Linked DNA regions of Homo sapiens: regions 1, 2 and 3 are each linked to region 4. The links are contacts of gene promoters, found by promoter capture Hi-C in blood cells and fetal thymus (Javierre and others, 2016). All regions are on one chromosome and are shown on one strand. The core of a region is centred on a gene start or on the middle of the fragment in contact, and the rest is flanking DNA. Distances in the headings are between cores, read along the strand shown.

The links. The method cuts DNA at HindIII sites, captures the fragments that hold promoters and counts their contacts. A CHiCAGO score of 5 or more calls a contact.
Region 1: a contact is called between a fragment that was not itself captured here and the fragment with the promoter of FANCD2OS in region 4, in 1 of 17 cell types (activated CD4 T cells). The highest score is 7.0, in activated CD4 T cells.
Region 2: a fragment that was not itself captured here is called in contact with the fragment with the promoter of FANCD2OS in region 4 in 1 of 17 cell types (activated CD4 T cells); the score reaches 6.9 in activated CD4 T cells.
Region 3: a contact is called between a fragment that was not itself captured here and the fragment with the promoter of FANCD2OS in region 4, in 1 of 17 cell types (total CD8 T cells). The highest score is 5.3, in total CD8 T cells.

What each region holds. Positions count from the first base shown.
Region 1 is chr3:9,903,077-9,905,964 of GRCh38, reverse strand. IL17RE (interleukin 17 receptor E) reads right to left here. Exons shown (of 16, transcript NM_153480.2): 2 at 2,553-2,568; 3 at 1,814-1,933. Among named protein-coding and RNA genes, the nearest start is that of IL17RE, 1.7 kb to the right of the region's middle. RefSeq lists an enhancer at 2,244-2,888. The HindIII fragment of the contact is 3,209 bases long and covers 34-2,888 here.
Region 2 is chr3:9,864,375-9,868,459 of GRCh38, reverse strand. CIDEC (cell death inducing DFFA like effector c) reads left to right here. Exons shown (of 7, transcript NM_001321142.2): 7 at 1,164-1,746. The coding sequence ends at 1,326. Among named protein-coding and RNA genes, the nearest start is that of CIDEC, 14 kb to the left of the region's middle. RefSeq lists a silencer at 4,081-4,085. The HindIII fragment of the contact is 177 bases long and covers 1,171-1,347 here.
Region 3 is chr3:9,927,341-9,931,033 of GRCh38, reverse strand. IL17RC (interleukin 17 receptor C) reads right to left here. Exons shown (of 19, transcript NM_153460.4): 10 at 2,814-2,868; 11 at 2,548-2,729; 12 at 2,404-2,454; 13 at 1,137-1,182; 14 at 885-1,006; 15 at 575-634; 16 at 91-139. Among named protein-coding and RNA genes, the nearest start is that of CRELD1, 4.6 kb to the left of the region's middle. RefSeq lists an enhancer at 2,172-2,671. The HindIII fragment of the contact is 6,275 bases long and covers 1-3,693 here.
Region 4 is chr3:10,106,028-10,109,750 of GRCh38, reverse strand. It overlaps FANCD2OS (FANCD2 opposite strand), which reads left to right and starts at 1,496. Exons shown (of 2, transcript NM_001164839.2): 1 at 1,496-1,736. The HindIII fragment of the contact is 5,627 bases long and covers 1-3,723 here.

The DNA.
Region 1 (2,888 bases), core at 389-2,888, 200 kb after region 4:
GTTTTAAATCAAGGAGGGTAAGGATGTCAAGCTTCTTTAATCTTGAAAATTATAAAGCAATCAAGAAAAGATTAATTTCTTAAGCAGAGAAAAAGCTATATATACAAAGATATTCATTTTAGCATTCTTTAATTTTTATTTTTTGGAGACGGAGCCTTGCTCTGTCACGCAGGCTGGAGTGCAGCGGCGCGATCTTGGCTCACTGCAATCTCCGCCTCCTGGCTTCAAGCGATTCTCCTGCCTCAGCCCCCAGAGTAGCTGGGACTACAGACGCCTGCCACCACGCCCAGCTAATTTTTTGTACTTTTAGTAGAGACGGGGTTTCACCATGTTAGCCAGGATGGTCTCGATCTCCTGATCTCAAGATCTGCCCACCTCAGCCTCCCAAAGTGCTGGGATTACAGGCGTGAGCCACCACGCCAGTCCCTGCCTCTCTCTCTTTTCTTTCTTTCCTTCATTCCTTCCTTTGTTCCTTCCTTCCTTCGTTCCTTCCTTCCTTCCTTCCTTTCTTGACAGGATTTTGCTCTGTCATGGAGGCTGGAGTGCAGTGGCACAATCACTGCTCACTGCAGTCTTGAACTCTTGGGCTTAAGCAATCCTCTCACCTCAGCCTCCTGAGTAGCTGGGATTACAGGCATGCACCATCACACCTGGCTAATTTTTGTATTTTTAGTAGAGACGGGGTTTCACCATGTTGGCCAGGCTGGTCTCAAACTCCTGACCTCAGGTGATCTGCCCGCCTCAGCCTCCCAAAGTACTGGGATTACCGGCATAAGCCACTGTGCCCAGCCCTGTAGCATTATTTCTAACAACAAACAATTAGAAAAATTAAACACTGCCTATTCTTTTTTTTTTTTTTTTTTTTTTTTTGAGACAGGGTCTCACACTGTCATCCAGGCTGGAGTGCAGTGGCGCTATCTTAACTCACTGCAACCTCCACCTCCTGAATTCAGGTGATCCTCCCACCTCAGCTTCCCAAGTAGCTGGGACTTCAGGTGTGCACTACCACATCCAGCTAATTTTTGTATTTTTTTGTAGAGATGGGGTTTGGCCATGTTGGCCAGGCTGGTCTCAAACTCCAGGACTCAAGCGATCCACCCACCTTGGCCTCCCAGAGTGCTGGGATTACAGGTGTGAACCATCATACCTGGCCCAGAAACTGCCAATTCTTTTTTTGGAGATGGAGTTTTGCTCTTGTCGCCCAGGCTGGAGTGCAATGGCATGATGTCGGCTCACTGCAACCTCCACCTCCTGGGTTCAAGTGATTTTCCTGCCTCAGCCTCCTGAGCAGCTGGGATTACAGGTGCCTGCCACCAGGCCCTGCTAATTTTTTGTATTTTTAGTGGAGACAGGGGTTTCACAATGTTGTCCAGACTGGTCTCGAATTCCTGACCTCAGGTGATCAGGCTGCTTCAGCCTCCCAAAGTGTTGGGATTACAGGCGTGAGCCACCGCGCCTGGCCTAGAAACTGCCAATTCTTAAGCAATGTAAGGGCATTTAGTATGTACCAGGCACTGAGCTGAGCAATTAAAATATAGAGTAAGAAAGAAGATCCTGCTCTACAAATAGATGGTAATAACAATAAATCCATAGCTTTTAATTCCAAGAATCTCAGCTGAAAAAAAACCTTCATAAAATTGTACAATTGTATTTGTGAATATCAGTCATAGCGTGCTATTTTAGGATAATCCAAGTCCCAGTTGAGGTTAAAACAAGACAAATATCTGTTCTAGTAAGTCCCACTTGCTCAGCCTAGGTGGTCCCTCAAAATGTTCTCTTCACTGAGAATGGCCCAAGGGGCTGTTTCTCATACCTGAGCCACCTGACAGCAGATGCTGGCACAAACAGCGGGAACAGTGCCAGACTCGCACACACCAAGGCTTTGTGGAGAAGAGGGCCCACCAGGTGCGGCAAGGGATATAGGCAGAACTTCCTGGGAAAGATGGAAGGGAAAGCAAATGATAGGGTCTAAGAAGGTCCCTCCTACCTCCAACAAGCTGGATTTGAGGCCAAGCTCTGTCACATCCTGGAAGTATGACTTTGGGGGTTACAGGACCTGTCTAAGGATCAGATTCCTCATTCATAAAGCGGGTCTGTTATAAAAATCAAAATTGTAGTGTATGGGAAAATGTCTTGTGAAGTAGAACATACCATAAAATAGGAAGGATTATTGTTGTATTACTGATAGAAGTGAGGGATCAGTTAAGGGGAGGAGCCAACATATATGGAGAACCTGGAGATTTACTCATGTTTCTCATCTAATCCTCTCTACAGATCAGAAGCAACACTGCCTTTAGTGTACAATCATTTCTACTATGCTACTACCCCTCAGAAACTGAGGGTCAGTTGGAGGGGTTAGGTGCACAGTCTGAGGCCACACGGGAGTCTGGCAGAACTGCAATGTGAACCCAGGCTTGTCATGATTCCAAATTTTTCCTTGATATTGTGCTACTTCCCGGGTTGGGAACTGAAAATTAGAATGGAGGGCTTGCTAGGCATCTGCAAAAATAGTGGGCGTGGGGAGGAGCAATGGGGCAGGAAATGCGACTCACCAGTGAAACTGTCATCCTGAGGCACAGGGCCCAGTAGGGAAAAGAAAGGAAAGAGCTATTATTAGGAGAGACTCCCATAAGGCACATTCCTGGGGTCTTTGCTTCAAATCAGCAAATTCTGAGCCCCATAGCTAATAGCCCATACCTTCTGGCTCTTATCTTCCCAGCTCCACCCTGTCCAGGCCCTCAGCACAAAGGACCTTGGCTACCCCTTTGAGACTAGGTAGAGGACACATCAAAGCTGCCACCAGAGCACAGGGACTGCGGAGGTAGCACAGGGCAGGCAGGGGAGTGGGGAGCTTTATGGCTGTGCCAGGCAGGTGTCCCTACCTGGCA
Region 2 (4,085 bases), core at 10-2,509, 240 kb after region 4:
TCACCCAGCTAATAAGACTGGATTAGGACTTAGGCCTGCCTGATTCAGGTTCTGTTCTCAGTACATGCTCATGCCAGGCATGGATGTCTTCATGTCCAGCACTCTGAACATGAGCTAGACTGCAGGTGGCTTGGACAGGCCTCAGAGTCTAGAACAGAGTGTCTCAAGGTGCAGAACCATGTTATGGAGATTAATCTGGTTGGTCCAAAGTAGTAGTAGAAAAATAAAAGCCTTATGAAATGAGCTGGGGTTTTGCATGAGAAAGTAGGGAGGTTCCGGGCATCTCAGTTAAGGTGGAATTGCAGGTCCTCGCACTAATCTTGATCCCATCTGCAGCATCTGTTCCTATTTGCACATCGCTCTAGAATTGATGAAATGCTTTTAGTGCTACCACCTCAGTGGTATTCAAATGTTATTAATGAAGAAAACAAACATAATGAAACCAATCCCTTCCAGGCCAGCATGGGAATAAGGGGGTGCAGGGAGGGGGTACACTCTTGTTTTTATTTATTATGTATTTATTTATTTTTGAGACAGAGACTCACTCTGTCACCCAGGCTGGAGTGCAGTGGCACAATCTCAGCTCACTACAACCTCTGTCTCCCAGGTTCAAGTGATTTTCGTGCCTCAGCTTCCCGAGTAGCTGAGATTACAGGTGTCTGCCACCACGCCCGGCTAATTTTTTGTATTTTTTAGTAGAGACGGGGTTTCGCCATGTTGGCCAGGCTGGTCTCAAACTCCTGACCTCAAATGATCCACCCACCTCGGCCACCTAAAGTTATAGGATTACAGGCATGAGCCACCAAGCCCAGCCTTGTGTTTTTTGTTTGATTGTTTTTTGAGACTGAATCTTGCTCTGTCACCCAGGCTGGAGTGCAGTGGTGCCACCTCGGCTCACTGTGACCTCCGCCTCCTGGGTTCAAGCGATTCTCCTGCCTCAGGCTCTGGAGTAACTGGGATTACAGTCACCCACCACTATGCCTGCCTAGTTTTTGTATTTTTAGTAGAGACAGAGATTCGCCATGTTGGCCATGCTAGTCTCAAACTCCTGACCTCAGGTTACCCGCCCTCCATGGCCTCCCAAAGTGCTAGGATTACAGGCGTGAACGCCATGCCCGACCTACTTCGTGGTTTTGACTTGCGTGCCCTCTCATTCCACCCAGGGAAGCTTTCCGCTGGGCCCTCTTCAGCATGCAGGCCACAGGCCACGTACTGCTTGGCACCTCCTGTTACCTGCAGCAGCTCCTCGATGCTACGGAGGAAGGGCAGCCCCCCAAGGGCAAGGCCTCATCCCTTATCCCGACCTGTCTGAAGATACTGCAGTGAAAGCCCAAGTCCTTGGAAGCTTTCCCCAGTGAAGGACTGACTGGGGGCCTCACGCTTAACTGGTAGTGCCCACAAGCCTGGCAGCTGTAGAGCCGCGAACCTCCCCACACCTCCCTCACCGCGCAGGACCCTGAGTGAGGAGGAGGAGCTGGAAACCTGGGGTGGGTTGGCCAAAGGAGAACCTCAAGCTCCTGGCCTGATCCAGCTCCTTCCTGCCCAAGGCAGCTTAGCCCATCCAGACTGGTCCTGAAGTCTGTCCCTCCATTGGCATGAAGTCTGCCCCTTAGCAATCTGGCCTCGCAGGCTGTACTTTCATGGTGCTCTCTACCTTCTGGCCCCCATCCCGGAACATTCCTGAGTGAATTCGCAAGCGCACTAGCATGTGATATTAGGGAGTTTGCAATAAATTATTGAGGCTGATGTATCTTCTTTGCCTGTGTTCTTTGGGGTGGGGTTTTATCTGGAAGGTTGGAGGGGGCTAAAGGAAGAGACGAATCTATTGTCAAAGTATTCTCTTTAATGTAGGATTACAGCTAATGGCACTTTTTCTACCAAAGAAGAAAAAAAAAAACAGCTGGGCACAGTGACACGTGCCTGCAGTCCCAGATACTCAGCAAGCTGGGGTGGAAGCATCCCTTGAGACCAGGAGTTCAAGGCCAGGCTGGAGCACAATAGCAAGACCCCAGGCTCCTTAAAAAACAAAATTGCAGTTGATTTTGAAACTAAAGTCAGCTGAATTTGAGGCTTGAGCTGACCATGTAATTGATACCATAAGTAACAATTTCCTAATTAAATTCACCTATCAGAGGAGCTTCAATTGAGCAGGTGGGATTAAGTCACTCTTCTAATTTCTCAGTGTCCCATTTTATAATAACCGTTTAAGTGGTTAGGTGAAAAAGTACTACTCAAGCTGTAAGGCATTTCTCCATCAATGCCCATCCTAACTTGCCAGACAGCTTATCTTTCATGTTCAGGACTTTCAACCTCGGGATTTCAAAGTGGGCTCATAGGTAGCCCCAAAGAGTAGGAGCTTCTCATCAGTGTGAGCTGGCATTTTCCAGTATTGGACAACTCAAGACAAGCATGAAAGGCTGAACTTAGGCTGGGCATGGTGGCTCACGCCGTAATCCCAGCACTTTGGGAGGCCGAGCCAGGCAGATTACCTGAGGTCAGGAGTTCAAGACCAGCCTGACCAACATGGTGAAACCCGGTTTCTATTAAAAACAAAAAAATTAGCTGGCCAGCATGGCAGGCGCCTGTACTCCCAGCTGTTTGGGAGGCTGAGGCAGTAGAATCGCTTGAACCTGGGAGGCAGAGGTTGTGGTAAGCCAAGATCGTGCCACTGCACTACAGCCTGGGTGACAGAGCGAGACTCCATCTCAAAAAAAAAAAAAAAAGGCTGAACTTGTAGAACTTGTAGGTGACTGTTTTATTTAGTCTGTGACTGAAAGATTTAAAAACTTGGCCAGGTGCAGTGGCTCATGCCGGATATCCCGGCACTTTGGGAGGCTGAGGCAGGAGTATCGCTTGAGGCCAGGAGTTCAAGAGCAGCCTGGGCAACATAGCCAGACCCTGTCTCTACACTAGATAATAAAAAAAAATTAGCAGAGCATGGTGGCTGTAGTCCCAGCTACTCAGGAGCCTGAGGCAGGAGGTTCACTGGAGCCCAGTAGGTCGCGGCTGCAGTGAGCTATGATTGTGCCACTGCACTCCAGCCTGGGCAACAGAGTGAGAGCCTGTCTCTGGGAAAAAAAAAAAAGAGGATTCAAAAACTCTATCACAGCCAGCCGCAGTGGCTCACGCCTGTAATCCCAGCGCTTTGGGAGGCCAAGGCGGGTGGATCACAAGGTCAGGCATTTGAGAGCAGCCTGGCCAACATGGCCAAATCCCGTCTCTACTAAAAGTACAAAATATTGGCCGGGCATGGTGGTGGGCACCTGTAATCTCAGCTACTCGGGGGGCTGAGGCAGGAGAATTGCTTGAACCTGGGAGGTGCAGGTTGCAGTGAGCCGAGATTGTGCCATTGCACTCTAGCCTGGACGACAGAGTGAGACTCCGTCTCAAAAAAGAAACAAACAAACAAAAAACGAAAAACAAAACAAAACCTATTGTTTCACTACTCTTACTATAAAGCCTATTTGGATGTAGTAAATACTAAGGCAAAGGCCTATATTACCAAAGATGGTCTGGGAGCTATTTATGGCAGCGGACCCAAACCCTGCAGCCTATGGGCAAAGCGGCTGAAGCTCGCTGAAGAGGGCCTGCTATTCCGGGCTCTCCTGCTCTTTTGCAGTTATGGCTGGAGGCTGGCCCGGTGCCAGGCTGGCTCCATGGGGTGGGCTGTCTGGCAGGGAGGCCTGATGTTTGTATTAGCACAGAAGCTATCCCAGTCCACCCTTGATGAAGCTGTGGCGGGGCCTACCTGCTCCTTCCGTAAAGTGCTCAGTAACAGAGTTGGAGTGGGGGTGGGAGGCTCGGTATTTGTCCCAAGCTTCCCTCCTCCTGAGATCCGGAGTTTCACAAGTGAATCTTGAGCAACTGCCCATGGTCTCTTGGCATTGAGCCCAGGGAAAACAAGGTTCTTTCTTTTCTTCCAGGAGCTCGAGGCTAATGGAGTCAAAGCAGCTGTGGTCAGTGAACAGAAAAGGCAGCCTCTGATGAGGCTTGGGGGCTGGGGAGGGAAGATTCCAAACAGCAAAGGAGTTTGAGCCTCTGTAGGGCCTGGCGGTCCTAGTGGGGGAACGGCCTTTCCTGGGGCC
Region 3 (3,693 bases), core at 886-3,385, 180 kb after region 4:
AGGCCATTGCATGTGCTGTGCCCAAGAGTGGTCCCTGTCAAGATCCCCACTCCTGGTACAGAAAGGAAAGGCAGTTCTTACAATACTCACATTTGTCCATGGGGCAGGCCCATAGCGCTCCCAAGTCATCGTCCCATAGCTGTAAGATACAAACAGAACCAAATCCAGGGCACCAGCCAGGTGTTCCAATATTCACCAAGCTCTGGTGGCCTGATCTCCAAATTCCCAGCATCAACTATGCATATCTCCCGGCTAAGGTTCCTGCAGCTGCTCTGCCTTTGTGCTGTGCCCACTGACTAGGGTATGACTTCTTCCATACCAAATCTGGCTTATAGGAAGAAATTCTTCCCGGAAGCTCTCCCTGGAACCCAAAACTTAGCACCTGTAGGTGTGGTTATCTGTTTATGGGTGTCTAGCCAACAGTGTGCTCCTTGGGGATAGGAACTGTGCTTCTTCTACTCTTAACTTTCCCAGGGCTGAACATAAAATAAGCCTAAATAGACAGTAGGTGAGTGCTAGTTTTAGGCCTGTTGCCCCTAGGCATTGAGGTGGGGCCCTTCTTCCACCAGCTCACCTGCAGACACTGGCCTGACTGCAGGTCTTGTAGTAAGTACTCTCCAAGGCGAGCTGCCCTCTGCCAAGCCAAAGGATGGGGGCACTGTTACCTGGAGGTAGCACCCTTAGGGCAGCACCTACCAGGCTACAGCTGGGTAGAATGAGGTAGAGGGGACTGGGAGACTTTGGTGATGCCGCTGAATATGGCCCTGGTCTGAGTCACCCCCCATGTTCCCAGAGACCGGCACAGGGTGGATGGAGTGAAAATTTGAGGCCAGATGTGAGATGCATTTGGAGAGATCTGTGGAGGAGGGTCGCCCAGTCCTAACCGTGGAGGCTTTGCTGGGTAGTGAAGTACAGCCACTGGGTTCCAAGGCACAGAGGGATCTGTTGTCCTGGGGGCCTCGTGTCTCCAACAGTAGCACATCGTCTTTGAGAGGCCCCAGGGAGTCTGGAAGGGGTGAGAGGCCACTCTGACCAAGACCCATCCTTGCTGGGATTGGCCACTTGCCTGCCTCCCATGCCCTGACCTTCACCCCTAGGAGGTGGCCCTGCCCCAGCTGCCCCCAGGCCCAACTCACCAGCCCACAAGCACTCCTGCAGCTGCAGCTTCTCCGAGCTGTTCACCTGCTGGGAAGAGACCATGGTTAGGGCCACTAAGAAAAGCAAAAGCCAAAGGCAGAAAGACCAGAATGGGGCAGGCAACAGAAGGCCTGTTGGGTTGGGAATCTGCACTCAATCTGACCTGAGGCAGATGTGGATTCAAGGCTGGGTGATTAGGAATCACTACATCTTTCTCTGCCCCAGCCTTGTGAGATCATCTGTATAAAGCGTCTTCTGACCCTAAAGCTGTTTTTATGTCTTACGGAGCATGGTTCCCCTCTCATCTAACCTTCTCAAAGAGATTCCTTTCTCACATGACCACCCTGCTAAAAATTGCAACCCCAGTCCCACCTTATCCCTTTCCCATGGTATTTGTATGCAATTTTAAGATACTATATGATTTATTTACAATGTCTGTTGCCTGCCTTTCTCCATTACAATATAAGTTCTATGAGGGTAGAGATGTTAGGGTCTATCACAAGTGCCTAAAACAGTGACTTGTGCTGCTCAAAAAATCTTGAATGAGTGAATTTTTTTTTTTTTTGAGACGGAGTTTCACTCTGTCGCCCAGTCTCACTCTGTCACCCAGGCTGGAGTGCAGTGGCGCCCTCTCAGCTCACTGCAAGCTCAGCCTCCCAGGTTCACGCCATTCTCCTGCCCCAGCCTTCCTAGTAGCTGGGACTACAGGTGCCCACCACCACGACCGGCTAATTTTTTGTATTTTTAGTAGAGATGGGGTTTCACCATGTTAGCCAGGATGGTCTTGATGTCCTGACCTCGTGATCTGCCCGCCTCGGCCTCCCAAAGTGCTGGGATTACAGGCGTGAGCCACCGCGCCTGGCCGGATGAGTGAATGTTCTTATAATCACCCTTTGAAACTGTAGAGCAACCCATTCTACAGGTATGGAAATAGAATAAGGATAGCAATAATAAAAGTGGCTACATTTATGGAGCATTTAGTCTGTACCGATTCCTAAGGGGAAGCACTTCTCTTATTTCATTGTCACAACCACTCCATGAGGTAGTTACTGTATTATCATCTGCATTAAACAGATGAGGAAACTGACGTTCAGAGAGGTGAAGTGAGTTGCCCAGGGTCCCGCGCACTACTAAAGTAGGCAGTGGAACTCCCATAGAGGAAGCTGGCAACCACTATGCTTTAGCGGCCCAAGAACTAAGACCCCCTTGGCTGGGGGGTCTGCCCAGGTCCAGCCTCCAGCCCAGCACTATGCACCCCTTTCTGACCTGAACACAGAGGTTAGGGTGGCCTTTCAGCAATGGGAACTCGAGAACCTTCTGTGGAAAGAGAGGAATGGGTGGGATCACAAAAGGGGACCCCCGGTTCCCCACTCTCCCCTCACCACGGGAGGTGCCCTCTGCTTCACTTACGTCCACAGTGACGTTCTCCCAGGAAAGCGGTGGGACCAGTGGCTGGCAGGGGTCCCCACCCGGAGCCCGCCAGCACAGTGCCGCTTCTGCGGGCAGCGAGCACGGTGCGTCCAGCAGCCAGCTCTGCAGGGTCAGCAGTTGCAGTCGGGCGGCTTGCCAGAGGTTCTGGTGTGCGCGGGGGTCTGCAAGGAAAGGGCACAGTCACCGCAGGCCAGGTACCCATCGCTCGCAACACCCCAACCCCAGCCCCAGGCCGGTCGGCTCACCCTCCCTGAAGGGGCAGATGTTCGTCCTAACGGAGTCAGGTTCCAGAGGCCACACCTGGAAAGGAAATGGGGGTCTGCTCAGGTCCCCTCCATGGGCATGTGCCTGGCCCTCTGCTGGACAGTGGGGATGCACTCATTCAGCAGGTATTTCACAAACACTTGCTGGGTCTTCCTGCCTTTTACAAAACCTGGAGGTGCTCACATCTATTCTTCCAGCAAACATAATGCTGGGCACTGGCAACATCTTCATTAACAAACTTTTTTTTTTTTTTGAGATAGAGTCTCGCTCTGTCGCCCAGGCTGGAGTGCAGTGGTGCAATCTTGGCTCACTACAACCTCCACCTCCCAGGTTCAAGCGATTCTCCCATCTCAGTCTCCTGAGGAGCTGCGATTACAGGAACATGCCACAACGGCCGGCTAACTGGTTAATTTTTGTATTTTTAGTAGAGATGGGGTTTCACCACATTGATCAGGCTGGTCTCGAACTCCTGACCTCAAGTGATCCACCCGTCTCAGCCTCCCAAAGTGTTGGGATTACAAGCGTGAGCCACCGCGCCTGGCCCATTCAACAGACTTTTAATGAGTGCCTACCATTGTGTCTTAGCAGTATGGCAAGCACAAGAGACCTTGGATAATTAAATTTTTATTATTTTTTTATTTTTTGAGATGGAATCTCACTCTGTTGCCCAGGCTGGAGTGCAGTGGTGTGATCTCAGCTCACCACAACCTCCGCCTCCTGGGTTCAAGTGATTCTCCTGCCTCAGCTTCCCAAGTAGCAGGGACTACAGGCGCACATCACCATGCCTGGCTAATTTTTGTACTTTTAGTAGAGACTGGGTTTCACTATGTTAGGCCAGGCTGGTCTCAAACTCCTGACCTC
Region 4 (3,723 bases), core at 247-2,746:
GCACAGGTCACGAGGTCAGGAGTTCGAGACCTGCCTGGCCAACATGGGAAACCCCGTCTCTACTAAAAACACAAAAATTAGCTGGGCCTGGTGGCACGCGCCTGTAATCCCAGCTACTCGGGAGGCTGAGACAGGAGAATCGCTTGAACCCAGGAGGTGAAGGTTGCAGTGACCCAAGATCAAGCCACTGCACTCCAGCCTGGGTGACACGGTGAGACTCCGTCTCAAAAAAAGAAAGAAAAAAAAAGAGGGAAATAAAAATGAACTAACTGGGGAAAAAAGTTTTGTAATTCAAAATCATTTGTGTCTCTTCCAAGTCTCACTATTCTGTGCCTCTCTCTTCATGTTCTGACCCGACATGCCCTCCAGACTCTTCTCCACTTACCTCTTCTTCCAAAAGGTGCACATGTACACACAGTGGGTGTGTGTCTTCTAAATCAGGATCTTGCCTGACTCTATTCTCAGACCCTCAGTCTTTCTCCATCAGCTTTACCCAAAAAACCAGAACAAAGGTGACAAGTCTTATTTGTGGTGTGTGTTCTATAGTTTGTAAAATGCAAGGGCAATTCTGGGTGTACAAGGGAAGGCCAAGTAGGCCATTAGTTACTTCCTCCCACAAATACTGCACACTGCCAGACATGGCAATAGCCAGGTACTGGGAATACAGACATCAGCTGGGTAGACTCCTCCCTTCCCTCAGCCATCCAGGGTCATTATTTTAAGTGATGATTACAAAGTTGTCAAATCACTCCTTCACTAATATGGCGAAAGTGTATTTCTGCATTATAAGAATGAGACAAAATCATTCTTTTTGAGATTTTTTTGTTTTCTTTTTGAGCTGGGAATCTCACTACGTTGCCCAGACTGGTCTTGAACTCCTGGGCTCAAGCAGTCTACCCATCTCAGCCACCTAGATAGCTGGGATTACAGGTACTCTCAGGTTTAACGCAAGGCTGAGAAAGGTTTTCTGTCAGGAAATCAAGGAAAGACGTGCGTTTCCTCCTGCTCTTGACAGGTGAACATTTATTAATTCTCTTTCTTTGCCACTGGGATCATTCAAATAGAGCAACAAAACCTGACAGAGCTCTGGGTCACTCTGCCTGAGCACCCACTGAGCAGAGTGTGATGAGTTGGGACTAACTTTTAACACTAACTACAGGTCCTGGGACTTTTATGCAGGCCTCTGACCATGGCCATTGAAGTAGGGGTCGCCTGTCCTCTGTGGCTTGATCAAAGGCACACAGGTACACAGGTGTGGCACGGTAGGGAGGAGGACAATGGAGGGGACAGGATTCGGACCAGCCCTCCTGAAGGCCAAGTCCTGGACAAGGCATTCCAATGAGGTGGGGGCGGGGAGTGTGGCCCTGACGCCTCCCAGTAGGGCGCCTCGAGCCCCCATCCCCGCCGCGGCTCGGGCTGCCCTGCCGTCCTGGGTCACAAAGGCGGTTGCCAGGCGCCACGAACAGCGGCCGCCACTTTGGAGCGTGAGACCCTCAGAGTTCAGCAGGTGAGCCCCGGGCCCGGATGGTGGGACTGGGCCCAGGTTCCCACCGCATCGTCCGCCTCAGCCAGAACCTTCTGGTCCCCGCCCCCGGATAGGGACCCAGGAGGCCCAAGCCCCTTCTTCCGGCGGGGAGTGGGAGCCTCTCGCACTCTCGGCAGCTCCAGACCCTCGGGATCTCCGTTTACAGTTCAGGACCTCAGCTGCACTTTGGCGCTAACGCCCTGTTTCCCAGGTGGGGAAATCAAGAGATGGGGTTCCTTGGAATGGGAAGTGGGGTGTGAAGGGGAAACCTTTTTGGCCAGGAGAATCAGGTGTTCCATATCTGGGAGCTATTGAGCAGCTTGAGCAGACTTTGTAGGTTCAAGCCCTTCTGGAGTGGTTGACAGTGACTTCTGGGCGGTGGGGATGGGGTGAACCATCTTTAAACTTTGTGCGAAGAGGTGCAGGGACCTAGGTTTAGAAGCGCTCTCGTCCCATGTTGGTTCTGCCGAATATTTAGGCTGACTCCTGACCTCAAGTGATTGGCCCGCCTTGGCCTCCCAAAGTGCTGTGATTGCAGGCCTGAGCCACCGCGCCGCGACCTAGGCTGGACATTTGACAAAGACTTTTACTTCTACCTCTACTTCCTCTTAGAAGATGTGGCAAGAAAAGGATCCGGGGGGCCCGGGCCCGGTGGCTCACGCCTGTAATCCCAGCACTTTGGGAGGCCGAGACGGGCGGATCACGAGGTCAGGAGATCGAGACCATCCTGGCTAACACGGTGAAACCCTGTCTCTACTGAAAATACAAAAAAATTAGCCGGGCGTGGTGGCAGGCGCCTGTAGTCCCAGCTACGGGAGGCTGAGGCAGGAGAATGGCGTGAACCCGGGAGGCGGAGCTTGCAGTGAGCGGAGATCGCGCCACTGCACTCCAGACTGAGTGACAGAGCAAGGCTCTGTCTCAAAAAAAAAAGAAAGAAAGAAAGAAAAGGATCCTGGGATTAAATACTTTTTTAAATCCCATATTCTGGGATTAAAAATATGCTTGACAGCATTCATACCCTCCGCCCACCTTGCCATGGTGGTGTACCACAGTAGTCCCTCTCTTGGATATGTGCTCTGAAGGTCAAGATATCAAGCACCAGAAGCCTTTCACAGGGTGTTTGGAATAGATAACTGTCCCTTGGGTGTCCCTTTCTCATTCTAAGGCAGCCCAGATATTTGAACACTTAGTACTTTGCAAAGAGCCTACATAGATCATGAGAAACATACTAGTTGGAGAAAATCAACAAATCCCCCTATACTAACCATTGTCAGGAGCAGGTCTTCTGGTCTGAAATGTCACCAACGTTTTTTTCTTTTTTGAGACGGAGTCTCCCTCTGTCACCCAAGCTGGAGTTCAATGGCTTGATCCCGGCTCACCGCAGCCTCCATTCAAGTGATTCTCCTGCTTCGGCCTCCTGAGTACCCGGGATTACAGGCACCCACCACCACGCCTGGCTAATTTTTGTATTTTTAGTAGAGACGGGGTTTCACCCTGTTGGCCAGGCTGGTCTTGAACTCCTGACCTCAAGTGATCCACCCACCTCGGCCTCCCAAAGTGCTGGGATTACAGGTGTGAGCCACTGTGCCCGGCCAACAGTTCTTTTTTTAAAACGAACTTTTCTATCTCACAAACGGCGGTGAAGGTGTCAAAATTTTCACAGTATTTCTGGGGCAATTACTGGATAGGATGAGATCTGCTGCTATCTTCTGTGGGAGAAGAAGGGGCAGAGAAATACACTTGGCTAGAAAGAAAAGGGACCTGCTATGCCCACTAACAAAATAGGTACGTGCTAAAAAAAATTAGCTTCTGAATTTAGTAAAACTTCTTATATACTGGCAATGTTGAAGGAGAATGATGGAAAATTCTAATTTTACTTGCATAAATTTTCAGTTAGCAATATCCTCACAGCCCTTTTTAATCTTCAAAGGAAAAAGAAAATTAAGGTCTTATGGAACCAGTAGGTCTTCCATAGATGGAAAACAAACAAATCAGAAAAACAAATTTAAAACCACACCCACACCTAGAAAAACAAAAATCTTTAACAGTTTTTTGACTGGACTTTGGAAGTGTTTTCTCCCAGCCTGGTGTAGCTCCTCTGAGGTGGTATATAAATAACCCAGGGGTCTGCAAGTTGCTCCCTTGTGCTAGAAAATGCAGAGGCCTTTGGGGCCAGGAGATGATCTCAGTAATGAATA